Linked DNA regions of Homo sapiens: all the other regions are linked to region 2. The links are contacts of gene promoters, found by promoter capture Hi-C in blood cells and fetal thymus (Javierre and others, 2016). All regions are on one chromosome and are shown on one strand. Each heading gives the region's core, a stretch centred on a gene start or on the middle of the fragment in contact. The rest is flanking DNA. Distances are from core to core; before and after follow the strand shown. Region 1 overlaps DPYSL2 (dihydropyrimidinase like 2). Region 2 holds the start of KCTD9 (potassium channel tetramerization domain containing 9). Region 3 overlaps DPYSL2 (dihydropyrimidinase like 2). Region 4 overlaps DPYSL2 (dihydropyrimidinase like 2).

What was found. The method cuts DNA at HindIII sites, captures the fragments that hold promoters and counts their contacts. A CHiCAGO score of 5 or more calls a contact.
Region 1: a fragment that was not itself captured here is called in contact with the fragment with the promoter of KCTD9 in region 2 in 1 of 17 cell types (fetal thymus); the score reaches 5.2 in fetal thymus.
Region 3: a fragment that was not itself captured here is called in contact with the fragment with the promoter of KCTD9 in region 2 in 6 of 17 cell types (naive CD8 T cells, naive B cells, naive CD4 T cells and 3 more); the score reaches 10.4 in naive CD8 T cells.
Region 4: a fragment that was not itself captured here is called in contact with the fragment with the promoter of KCTD9 in region 2 in 10 of 17 cell types (naive CD8 T cells, non-activated CD4 T cells, activated CD4 T cells and 7 more); the score reaches 22.8 in naive CD8 T cells.

What each region holds. Positions count from the first base shown.
Region 1 is chr8:26,597,179-26,600,279 of GRCh38, forward strand. The region is part of intron 3 of DPYSL2 (dihydropyrimidinase like 2); the gene reads left to right. Among named protein-coding and RNA genes, the nearest start is that of DPYSL2, 85 kb to the left of the region's middle. The HindIII fragment of the contact is 514 bases long and covers 1,003-1,516 here.
Region 2 is chr8:25,457,006-25,460,105 of GRCh38, forward strand. KCTD9 (potassium channel tetramerization domain containing 9) reads right to left here and starts at 1,428. Exons shown (of 12, transcript NM_017634.4): 1 at 1,194-1,428. The coding sequence starts at 1,241. CDCA2 (cell division cycle associated 2) reads left to right here and starts at 2,228. Exons shown (of 15, transcript NM_152562.4): 1 at 2,228-2,468. RefSeq lists enhancers at 477-526, 1,897-2,126 and silencers at 1,137-1,186, 1,547-1,756. The HindIII fragment of the contact is 4,823 bases long and covers 1-3,100 here.
Region 3 is chr8:26,562,656-26,565,361 of GRCh38, forward strand. The region is part of intron 1 of DPYSL2 (dihydropyrimidinase like 2); the gene reads left to right. Among named protein-coding and RNA genes, the nearest start is that of DPYSL2, 50 kb to the left of the region's middle. The HindIII fragment of the contact is 297 bases long and covers 1,245-1,541 here.
Region 4 is chr8:26,580,556-26,583,383 of GRCh38, forward strand. DPYSL2 (dihydropyrimidinase like 2) reads left to right here. Exons shown (of 14, transcript NM_001197293.3): 2 at 1,414-1,502. Among named protein-coding and RNA genes, the nearest start is that of DPYSL2, 68 kb to the left of the region's middle. The HindIII fragment of the contact is 3,760 bases long and covers 1-2,828 here.

The DNA of each region.
Region 1 (3,101 bases), core at 10-2,509, 1.1 Mb after region 2:
TCTCCCCTTGCATCCCAGAGGGGGATTTGGAGAGCAATCAAGAGGAGTAACTGATGCCATGCATTCATCAACTGAACTTAATCCTTCTTCTGGGAGGCCCGGGAGCCTTCTTCCATGCGGGGCCAGATTGAGCTGATTTCTGTCACGTAGGCTGCTCCGAGGTTGCCTTGCCCTTGCCTGGCACTCATCTTTTGCATTTCTCTGAATCGCTTTGGCGTGGGCTTTTATGAGGTTCATTAGGCTCAGCACCTCCCATGTCTGCTTGGGAAACACCACGGGCAGATGGCATTTTTCTTTTCTTTTCTTTTTTTTTGGATACAGAGTCTCCCTCCGTTGCCTAGGCTGGAATGCAGTGGCTTGATCTCAGCTCACTGCAAGCTCCGCCTCCCAGGTTCACGCCATTCTCCTGCCTCAGCCTCCCAAGTAGCTGGGACTACAGGCGCCCGCCACCACGCCCAACTAATATTTTGTATTTTTAGTAGAGATGGGGTTTCACTGTTTTAGCCAGGATGGTCTCGATCTCCTGACCTTGTGATCCACCCGCCTCGGCCTCCCAAAGTGCTGGGATTACAGGCAAGAGCCACCGCACCTGGCCTCTTTTTTTTTTTTTTTTTTTTGAGGGGCAGAGACAAGGAGGAAGATCAGACAATTTCTCAGAGTTGGAATTGTGTTCTGGGTATTGTTTTTCTCCTTTATGGAGATAATCCAGGGAGAAACATGAAGTGTAATGGAAAGAATTTGAGGCCCAACCTTCTTGATGATGCATCTTCATGGAGCTGGGAGACCTTCGTGCCAGGGTCGACTCTGCTGCTTATTAGCTCAGGCTCGGTGCCCCACGGCTTGGTCCTGGTTTTCTGAATCGTCAGATGCACCTGGATCAGCATGTCTTGCATAATAGGGTTGCTTTGAGGATCCAGGGAGGTGGTGGCTATGGCAGGGCTTGGACAAATTACATGTATGGGGGAGTAGCCCCTTCACCCCAGTTTTGCTCCTGACCGTTGAAGCTTTTTATATTGACCCGTGGCTACTGTGGTATTCGAAGGGCTAAATTTGTTTTGTGACTTTTGCCTTCAGCAGCCATCGCATTACATCATCTACCTTTTCTTGTGTTCTTCTGTCGTCGAGAATCAATTAAAATGGTCAGCATTGCTATGAAATGGTTTATTTTTTTGTGGATGTTTTAGAGCTCCTCCTCTCCATCTCCTGAATTTCTTTTCTTGCTAAGCCTATTCAGCTCTGTTTTTTAGAGAGTTCTTTTCCCTCCTGCTCTATGAAAACGTATTTTCCATGTTAAAAAAGGAAGATCCATGTTGCTGTACTTAATGCTTCATGTTTTAGAATGTTAGTGCCAGCAGAAAGCACCAGGAGACACCCGATGTGCCCCCACCTTGGTGAGCACCTTTCCCCCCAGGCACAGTCCCTGCTTACGGGAGATTTGAGGCATTTGATCATTTTTTCCCGTTAGCTTACAGCACAAAGTACTTTGAAATAAAGATTGGCTCGCAGGGCAGGTTGAAGCTTCAACACCAAAATCTCTCTGTTCCTTGTGGGTGGATGGGAGCCTGACACCTGATTACAAGCTCCAGGTGAAGAGCAGGTTTGAGACTTACACCTTGTTTATTGCAATCTTTCTTTCATTTTGCAGGCGGTGGGGGTGGGGGAATGAAAGCCCAGAAAGGGATGTGGCACTCGGGCAGGACGGGGGCTGCTTCTGTGCCTTTTCCCCACTGTGCGTATTCTTAGCTGCGCAAGTGTCGTGCATGTGCGTTTGGCTCACACCCAGCGGGAGTGCCCTTCTTGTGAAGGAAGCTCGTTCTCTACCGAAAAGCTCACTTTTCAGAGAAGAGCTGGAGAAGGCCTGTTGTCCATCTTAGTCCTGAAATATGAGTTTTCATTCCATGGCAAGTCCTTTTAATGAAAGATGGACTGGAGAAGCTGATGCATAGAAAAGAAATAGGTTCTTTTATGTAGAGGGGGAAAGTGTCCACTCTGCGGTATTTCCTGGGTCCTGTGGCTTGTAGGCATTTGAACTGTTTTGTCTTGGTTCTGAGAGAGTCAGATGATTCAGAAGCTGTGTTCTGCTGAACATTCCTGCCTTCTTGACAGAAATCCCCTATTTTTGTGGTCCCCCTGGCAGGTAAAGGTGGCCCCTACTGACTTGTAGGATTTCTGTCCATGATTGTGTCTGAAATGTCATTTTTTCTGGTTGTTTTCCCTCTTCATGTATTAGCTTGGCTCTTTCTTCTCCTCTTTGTCTTTAAGGTAATTTGCAAAGGTCACACTATTCTTGCTTCTTCTTAGAAATGTCATAAGGGATTTTCAAAGAAAGAAAATTTCTGAGTAAGAGTATCTCCCTCCCCTCCCCTCCCCTCCCTCCACTCCTCTCCCCTCTTTTCCCCTTCCCACTTCCTCCTTTCCTTTCTTTCTCTCGCTCTCTCTCTTTCTCATTTATGTTAGCTTACATGAGTATACTGACTCTAAAAATTTTTGATTCTACTACTGCACTCCAGCATGGGTAATAGAGCAAGACCCTGTCTCAAAAAAATAAATAAATAAAAATAAAAAATCTTAAAAAAATTTAGATATGATTTGTATACCCTCAGATTCACTCTCTGAAAGTGTATAACTCAGTGCTTTTTAGTATATTCACAGAATTGTGGAAGCATCACTACCATCTAATATCAGAACATTCTTACCACCCCAAAAAGAAACCCTACCAATTATCAGCTGCTCCCCATTCCCCACCTCTCCCCTTGCACCCCTAGCCCATGGCAACCACTACATTTCTATAGCGTTGCCTGTTCTGGACATTTCATATAAATGGAATAATACAATATGTGGCCTTTTATAGCTGGCTTCTTTCCCTTAGCATAATGTTTTCAAGGTTTATCCAAGTTGTAATATGTATCAATACTTCATGACTTTTTATGGTCGAATAATATTACATTTATGAGTAGACCACATTTTGTTTGCCCATTCATCGATGGATGGCATTTGGGTTGTGTCCACTGTTTTGGCTATTGTGCATGAATAATGTACATTTGTGGGCAAGCATTTGCGTGGGCGTGTGTTTTCTGTTCTCTTGGGTATATACCGAGGAG
Region 2 (3,100 bases), core at 178-2,677:
ACTTCGTGAACATATTTTCGGGGTAGCATTCATGATAACTCAAGAACTCGAATTTATACGAATTCTGATTTTAAATGAGTATTAAATCTCTAAGACCAAAAGAACATAAAATTATAGCCAACAAACCACACTCTGGTTCGAATTTTCGGAGCATGTTTACTCTACACTGAATAATCGGAAAGCCATTTTTAATGCCACTGGACAATTTCACTATTTAAAAATTTACAGTGTTCCCCGAATGTGCAGGCAGCAGAGTATTTTGGCAACCAACACAGCGAGACCCATTTACCTTTACCTTAGACTCGTAAAGGCTGAGTTACTTCTAGGTATCATTTAGCAACGCAATAAATGTCTGCCTCGAACAGTGAAAATTTCCCAAAGGAGCAGAACAACTTTCATGGGTGGGGCAAAAGGCTGGGAAGGAAGAGAATTCGTTTTGGCTTGCTCCAGCGCTGGAAGAACACTGAGCACCACACTCTCCGCAAAGGCCTAACACAGCAAAGGCGACTGTCAAATCGATCCCTTTTGGGTCTGCTGTACCCGTCCTCTAGGGAATCAAAATAAGGCAAAATAATAAAAAGAGTACAGAGAAGTTTGGCGGCGGCGGGGCGTGGGGGCTTGAGGCATCTCAGAGAGGAGGGCAAAAATCAACAAGAAAATGCCCCCATTTTAAAAATCCTGTCTGCGACCTCGGATGGGAGATTTTGTTTATCCACGGGCAGTTTACTTCTGTCTCCCTGACCCATCTCCACAGGCTCTGGTGCTCGCCGCCACTTTCCGAGCAGATCATTACTCAGCACCGGAGCCGGCGCGCCTCCTCCCGCAGGCGGGAGCGGGGTCTCGGGGAGAGGCGGGAAGAGGCGCGACCGCCCGGGCGCCCAGGTGACCGCGGCCCTCCCCGCGCCCCCGTCCCCGCGCCCCCCGCACCAAGCATCCGGGAGACCCGGAGCCCCCGGGCCGAACCGCGCCGGCCCCCAGGCAGCTGAGGCACTGAAGGGCAGGCTCGGGCACGGGGGTCCTGAGGGTCGGGAGGAGGCCGCGGGGACCCTGTGCTGTCCCCGAGCGCCCCCAGCCCGCGCACGCCCACCTCCCAGCCCCTCTACCCAACTTCACCGCTGCCCCGCCAGCCGGTTCCGCACCGTCCGCCCTCGCCCCGACCCCCGGCCCGCCGCGCCCCCTCACGCCCCCGTTACCTTTCCGTTCTTGGGGCTGCCGTTCAGGAACAGGGTCACCCGCCTCATCGCGCTGCCCCCGCTGGGTCCTGAGTGAGCCGCCACCCTCCCACCTGGTCCTCCTCCCACCTTTTTCTCCTCCCGCCCTTCCCCTCCCTCCACCCACTCGGATTCGCCTCCCTTCGCCACCTTCCTGCCCTTGGGGACACACCACACGCACGCACTCTGTCCCACACCCAAGGTTCGGCCGGTCCTCCTTCCCACCCCGCCCCTAGGCTCCTCAGCCTGCCTGGGGCCCTTCCCCCACCTCTCCGAGACTGACACTCTGCCGTACCAACCAACCCGCGTCACCGGACAGAGTCCAGCCAATCAGCACCCAGTATCGGGCGGGCTCTGGCTAACCTAGCCGGGACGGAGGGAGGGAAGAGACGCTGAAGGCTAGTAGACGGGAAGGGGCATCAGCCAATCAGAGAGGCTCCTGGAGCCGGACGGCGGCTTCCAGCGTTACTGAGCAGGCGCACCCTCTAGTTTAGGTAGCGCTTATCTGCATACGAGGGCGGGGTCTGGGGAAAGGAGGTGGAGCGCTGAAAGGGACCCAAGCACCAGTCAGCCCCTCCTCCAGCGTTAGCCCCGCCCACAAGCCGGCCCAGCTAGGAAACGGCTGCGGTAGGGACGGACTGATTGGGTAAGAGCCAGCTCGTCGCTCTGTTAGGATTGGTTGAATGAGTCTTTTCGAAGTTTGCAGCATCCAATAGAAAGGTGGGAGGCGGAGTTAAAGCGCTAAGAGAAGCGTTACTCCGCGAGACTCTCCTGAAAAGTAGTCCCCGAGGTCACAAGGCAGTGGCAGGTGTCTGTAGTCCTCGGGTTGACTGCAGCTCGCGGTGGTCCCTCTCCGAGCCCAGGAAGCCACTCCAGTGCCGAGGGAGAGGCCTGGGAGCGCTCGGAGTGTGCGCGGACTGGAGAAGGGGGAGGTGGCGGAGTGATTCGTAGAGTAAATTCGGTACCGAGGGGCGGGGTCGGGGATTTGAATCGGTCGGCGGGCGGAGGAGGCGGGTGGAGGAGGCTGCCGGGCAGAGCGCAGGCCAGGATCAGCGCAGGCTGTGAGTCCAGGTCAGCCGTCGGGACCTCGGGCTCCGGGTTCGAAGAGCGGCTCCCGGCTGCGGGTGCTTTGCCAGGAGAGCCCTTCCGGACAGAGGAGCCGGGGTCTGGAAGGAGCGGCCGACGCGACGCTCGCCTGCCACGGGGCTCTGGGAGTAAGCCTGTCTGCCTGGCGGGCCTTCAGGTGCGGCGTGAGAGGTAGGATTGCATCCGCGCTGCCACGGGGCTGTTTCTCCGGGGCATTTCTAGGCACTTTGTTCGGCTTACCCTGCAGCACAGAATTAGTACTCCTGTCAGGAGCTGCTCTGGGTGACCAGGAGTGCATCCGGACCTGTTGAGAGAATTTCTGGAAATGGATAGAGCTGCGTCTTGAGAGGGGTACCCTTATGATTCAGGTTTTCGCTACGGTTGAAAAGCCATGGCTTATCCTTTGGGGTCTGCTTTGGTGCCTGAACAGCAGTTTTCTCCATTTCTTTCTGTTTAATTTGGCTTTAAAAGTACGCGCTTAGAGTAAAAGAATGGTTAGCACAGGGTGGGAAGTGTATTGGGGATGGATGGGAAGGAAGTGGAGATGGTTAATAGGTAGAAAAACAAAGAATGAATAAGATCTAGTATTTGCTAGCACAACAGGGTGGCGGTCCATAATTTAATTGTGCATTTAAACATAACGAAGTATAATTGGATTGTTTATAACAAAAAGGATAAATATTTGAGATAATGGCTACCTCATTTACTTTGATTTGATTATTACGAATTGCATGCCTGTATCAAAATATTTCATGTACCCCATAAATTATACATCTACTGTATACCCACAGAAATTAAAATAA
Region 3 (2,706 bases), core at 143-2,642, 1.1 Mb after region 2:
TACAAAGCAGATGTTACTGTGTAACAAATAGCCCCAAAATATAGTGGCAAAGACCAACAACACTCTTACTGTGCTCATGGATCCTGTGGATCAGGGATTTGAACACAGTAGAGCAGGGATATGTTGTCTCTGCTCCACGATGTCTAGGGCCGTATCTGGGAAAACTTGAATGGCTTTGGGTGACTTGAACAACCGGGGTGGAGTCCTCCAGAATCTTTCTCACTCATACGTCTGTCACCTTGGCACCATGGCAGGAAGGCTGGGCTTGGGGGGACTCTGCTGGAATTCCTATATTGGTCTCTACATGGCTTCAGCTTCTTTACAGCATGGTGGCGTTAGGGTAGCTGGATTTCCCACACCTGTGTCTGAACTCAGACCATGCTTTCTGTGACCTGTCCTTGGAAGGCATCTCTTCTGTCATACTCTACTTGTTAAAGCAGCCAGAAGCCCACCCGAATTCAAAGGGAGGGCATGTAGACCCCACCTTTCATTAGGAGGATGCCAAAGAATTTGTGGCACTGTTTTTAAAGGGCCACGCTCATGTCTATCACTCTCTCTTGCTCACAGTTCTCCAGTCACACTAGACTCCTTTCTGTTCCCAAAACATTCCACCTCATCCTAATCTCAGTCTTCCCATGTTTTTGTTTTCTCTTACATAAACTCTCTTCTCCCAGATGGCTTCCTCCTTCTCATCTTTGTCCAAAGACTAAGTCTTCCCTTTTAATTAACACATTGAGTCAGAAACTTTGCTGCAAAAATTGAATTGAAGCCCCAATATCTTTTTCCAGACATGAAGTCCTGAACTTAGCTCCCAGACACCACGTTCTGCTACTTCCTCCAGAGGCTAAGTCTAGAACTCTGCTGCCTGAGGCTAAGTCCAGAATTTTCCCTCCAGAGGCAAAGTCAGATTTTTGCTCTTGGGACTAAATCTCTACCTAAATGTCAGCTCCCCTTCCTAGACCTTCCTAGACCACTCTGTCTAAAGTGCCTTTCCACCTCTCTATCCTCTGCTTATTTCCTTGATGGCACTGACTGCAATCTGAAGTTATCCTTTGTATTTGTTTCTTTCCCCATTAATTAAATGGCTACCCCCTTGTAGAAGGTAACTTCCATGAGGGCAGAGGTGTTGTAGGTTTTTTTACTATCATATCCCTTGGCACATAGAAGGCACTTAATGTAACCTTGCTGGATGAGTGAATGAATGAATGAATGAATGAATGAAGTGTGGAAAGAGTCAGGAATAAAGCTTTGGAAGTTAGAAACGTTTAGTTAGTTGTTGAAACCATGACAGAGAAAGAGGCTTAGGAGACAACCTAAGGGATCATTGATATTTAAGACTGGGTAAGAGGAACTCAATGAATGTTTAGAAAGAAGAGTCATAAAAGCGTGAAAAGAGCCAGAAAAAAAGGCATCACAGAAGCGAGGGAGGGGAATTTGGAAGAAAAAAGGTAGAGGCAATAATGTTAAGTATCACAATGAGCTCAGTTAAAATAAAGATCACAAAGTGCGCATTAGCTTCCAATTAGCATGCTGTTTGCCCAAGCTTTTCTAATGGAGTCAGGCGAAGAGGCCAACTGTAGTGGGTTGAGAAGCAAATGGGAGTGGAAGTTGAGGAAGTGGAGGCCAGGAGTGTACGCTACCCATTCCTGAAGCTTAACCATGTAGGAACAGCAAGGCAGGGCAATCGTGGTGAGGAGCACAGGGCCAGGGAGATGGGAACGGCTGGAGGAGTTTTCCAAGCTCAAGGGACTGAGAGGTGGAGAGGAAGACTTTGAGATTTGGGAGCAGGCCGGGGTGGGAAACAGCATGGATTTGGGAATAATCCTTGAATGGGCTGACGTCTTCCTGTGAGACCTAGGGAAGGAGAAAAGAGGGGTGTGTGTGATGCTCTGCTACAAATCCTTATTCCATTTGTGATTCCTCATTCAGCACTGGGCTCTCCAGCCAGACTGAGCTCATGAGAACACGATTGAGGATGACCCAGGAAGCATGGCAAAGGTGGTGACAGCTGCTGAGAGGTGTGAGAGGGTGGCCAGATCAAGGACCAGTGGGAAGTCTTCAGGGGAAGCTCTTCTGGAGTGATCTGTCCCAGTTTCTTTTTAAAAGAATTTTTTTTTTAAAAAATTTCAATAGCTTTTGGGATACAAGTGGTTTTTGGTTACATAGATGAATTGTATAGTGGTGAAGTCTGAGATTTTAGTGCACCCATCACCCAAGGAGTGTACATTGTACCTAATGTGTAGTTTTTTTTTATGCCTAGCCCCATTCCCACCCTCCTTCTTCTGAGTCTCCAAAGTCCATTATATCACTCTGTATGCCTTTGTGTATTCATAGCTTAGCTCCCTCTTATAAGTGAGAACATACAGTGTTTAGTTTTCCACTCTTGTGTTACTTCACTTAGAATAATGGCTTCCAGCTCCACCCGAATTACTGCAAAAGATATTATATCATTCTTTATCATTCTGTTTTATGGCTGAGTAGTATTCCAAGGTGTATATGTACCACATTTTCTTCATCCACTCATTGGTCAGTGGGCACTTAGGCTGGTTCCATATTTGTGCAACTGTGACTTGTGCTGCAATAAACATAGGAGTGCAGGTGTCTTTTTGATATCATGACTTCTTTTTGTCCCAATCTTTAATGCAGTATGAGTGTTCTGTGGCTGCTCCCACAGAAGTGGTTAGGGAATAGTGAATTTTAGGGCTG
Region 4 (2,828 bases), core at 305-2,804, 1.1 Mb after region 2:
TTAGAGAGACAATAAATACTTTCTGAACCAAGGTGTGTGTATTTATGTGTAAAATTATCTTTTTTCCTTGCTCTCTAGTAGCTTATCTCTTTTTTAAAGATTTTCTATGATTTCCTTTTCTTGGTAGCTGCTAAAGAGAGGTAGCACTTGCTGAGAATATTGTTTTGTAACTGAATTTTGAGTTAACTATTGCCAAAAGAATGTCATTCTTTGAAATGTGTTGCATATTAAAAGGGCAATGTATGGTTCAGCTTGCCAGGTTTAAGCCCATTCTGTATAATACAGGTGCATATTTACTGAACACTCGATGCCAGCATTCCTTCCATCAGCAGCATTTGCAATAACGATGAGTCATAATGTAGCATTTCTGTCACATTCTCAGACTTTATCTGCTGCTTGTCCTTTATTTTTTAGCATAAATATCACCGGTTAAAATATAAGTGCATCAGCAATCTGTAGTGCATTGCATCTTAGAATTTGCTATCTCAGATACTTATTCGTGGGAGTTTACCTTTTTCTTAACAGCCTAGTTAAAATGGCATCAATGGCGTATTTTTTGTAGTCTTTTTGCTATACTTGCTGTGATTTACCTCAAAGATAAATGCAAATATAAAGGACATATTGAATGGAAACCTTGCTATGGTTGAACCCAGTGTATTTGTGTGGTATATCCCGTGACAGCAGACTTTTTGGTCAATTGTGCTTGCTTGACACAGTCTTTCCAAGACATGGCTTTCCTATATGTAGGTGGTTTTTTTTGTTGTTGTTTGTTTGTTTTTAAATTGAGGTTTAGCCAAAAGCCATTTTAAAAAGTACTATCTTCTTTTTTTTTTTTTGAGTTGGAGTCTTGCTGTGTAACCCAGGCTGGGGTGCAGTGACGTGATCTCGGTTCACTACAACCTCCGCCTGCTGCTTCAAGCAATTCTCCTGCCTCAGCCTCCCGAGTAGCTGGGATTACAGGCGCCCACCACCATGCCCAGCCCATTTTTTGTATTTTTTATAGAGATGGGGTTTCACCATGTTGGCCAGGCTGGTCTCAAACTCCTGACCTCAGGTGATCCGCCCATCTTGGCCTCCCAAAGTGCTGGGATTACAGGCATGAGCCACCGTGCCCGGCCCTATCTTCTTTATATGAAATAATTTTCACTGCTTTTTTTTTTTCTTTGGAGTCCAAGGTCTAATTGAAAGAGATGGTTCGTTTATCTAGGATAAGCTGTCCCTGTGTGTTCTGACTCATCAGGTGATGAATAGGTTGCCACATACAGGCTTACCTTTGTCACTGAACCTTTCCAAAATGGGCTTATTTTGAACATCACTTTTGAACAGTGAAAATGTATCCTTAGCTCACATATCTTAGCACCTGTTTCTCATAGGTCAGTTACGCGTTGTGACCTTACTGCCTCTTTGTTTCAGAGCGATCGTCTTCTGATCAAAGGAGGTAAAATTGTTAATGATGACCAGTCGTTCTATGCAGACATATACATGGAAGATGGGTTGATCAAGTAAGTGTAACTCATGATATACAGATGTATTTGAACACTTTCCAGACTTCCCAAGTATTAGATACCATTCGCATCCAAAGTATCAAACTTCAGGAACATCAGAGAGTGACCAACTTAGTATCTGTTTTAAACTGGTTTTGATTGGTGGTAATTAGTGAATTTGAAAACTCAAATTTAGGGAATTCAAAGCAACAATTAATGTACACCCGTTGCATTAGGTATTATGTAATTTACTATTTTTAACTGAGGTGATATGATATCTTTCTGTTGCCAGCTCAAATACTTGGTTTGTGATATGTTGAATATATTAAAGTTTTGCCTAGAATGTCATTGTTTGGGTTGGATTGCCCAAAGGACGCAAACGTGAAAGACAGTCTCCTCTATTGAGACAGCACATCTGCTTTCTTCATCAAGAATCCAAGTTGGAGGGGCCAAAGAAAGATACCAAGTTAATTACTAAGTAATACAGACAAATTACTGCCTAAATCCTGAGGGAATTTTAGGTTTTATTCTAAGTGGCAACTAGTGCAAATAAGACTGCCCTTGTGTTTATTGTGTTAATGTTACAAAGGAGAAGCAACAGGGCAGTTCCTGAGTTTGGGTATTTTTGGACGCCAGAGGGTTAAGGAAGCTGAGTTCATCCCAGTATCTGCCTGCCCTTTCTACTGGGGTAGCTCCCGGGGCTCTGGAGAAATAGCACATCTGTTTGAAGACAAACACTGCAGCCAGTGACAGCTTTTAAATAAGCAGCATTCATCAAGGGATAGCTGTAAACCGGTCCAGAGGAGTGGAAAACTGGAGTGGCTGTGACTGTTGCCTGGGAGCTCACACCCAGATTTATGAACCTAAAATAGATTTTAACATTTCCACGTTTAATGTTTTCTCCATGTGTGTTTGCTGTGACAGTCTCAGCTCCAGGCTCTCAAATGCCATGACTTTGATGTTCCATTTTCCCCCAATTATAAGATGGCACGATCTGGTCTGGTAGAATGACACTGGCCCAGAAGTGTGCAGGCCTGTGTGCTGTTTTTACTCATCACTGATTTGTTCTAGAACTTTATCAACTTCTCCTAGATTAATATTCCTTTTAAAAAATTGGTAGAAAGATATAAAAATATTTTTTAAAAGTTGGAAATGAATCATGTCTCCCAACATAATGAATATTCATTTTTCTGCCTTTTAAAATTATATTTCAGCTGTTAGCTTTTTCATTATCTGAATAACTAAACACACGCTTCCAAAATTTTAAATCATTGCAATCATAGTGTTCACTTTTTTTTTTTTTTTGCTTTGATTTGTTCTACCTCACCCTTCCACCCCTATTTT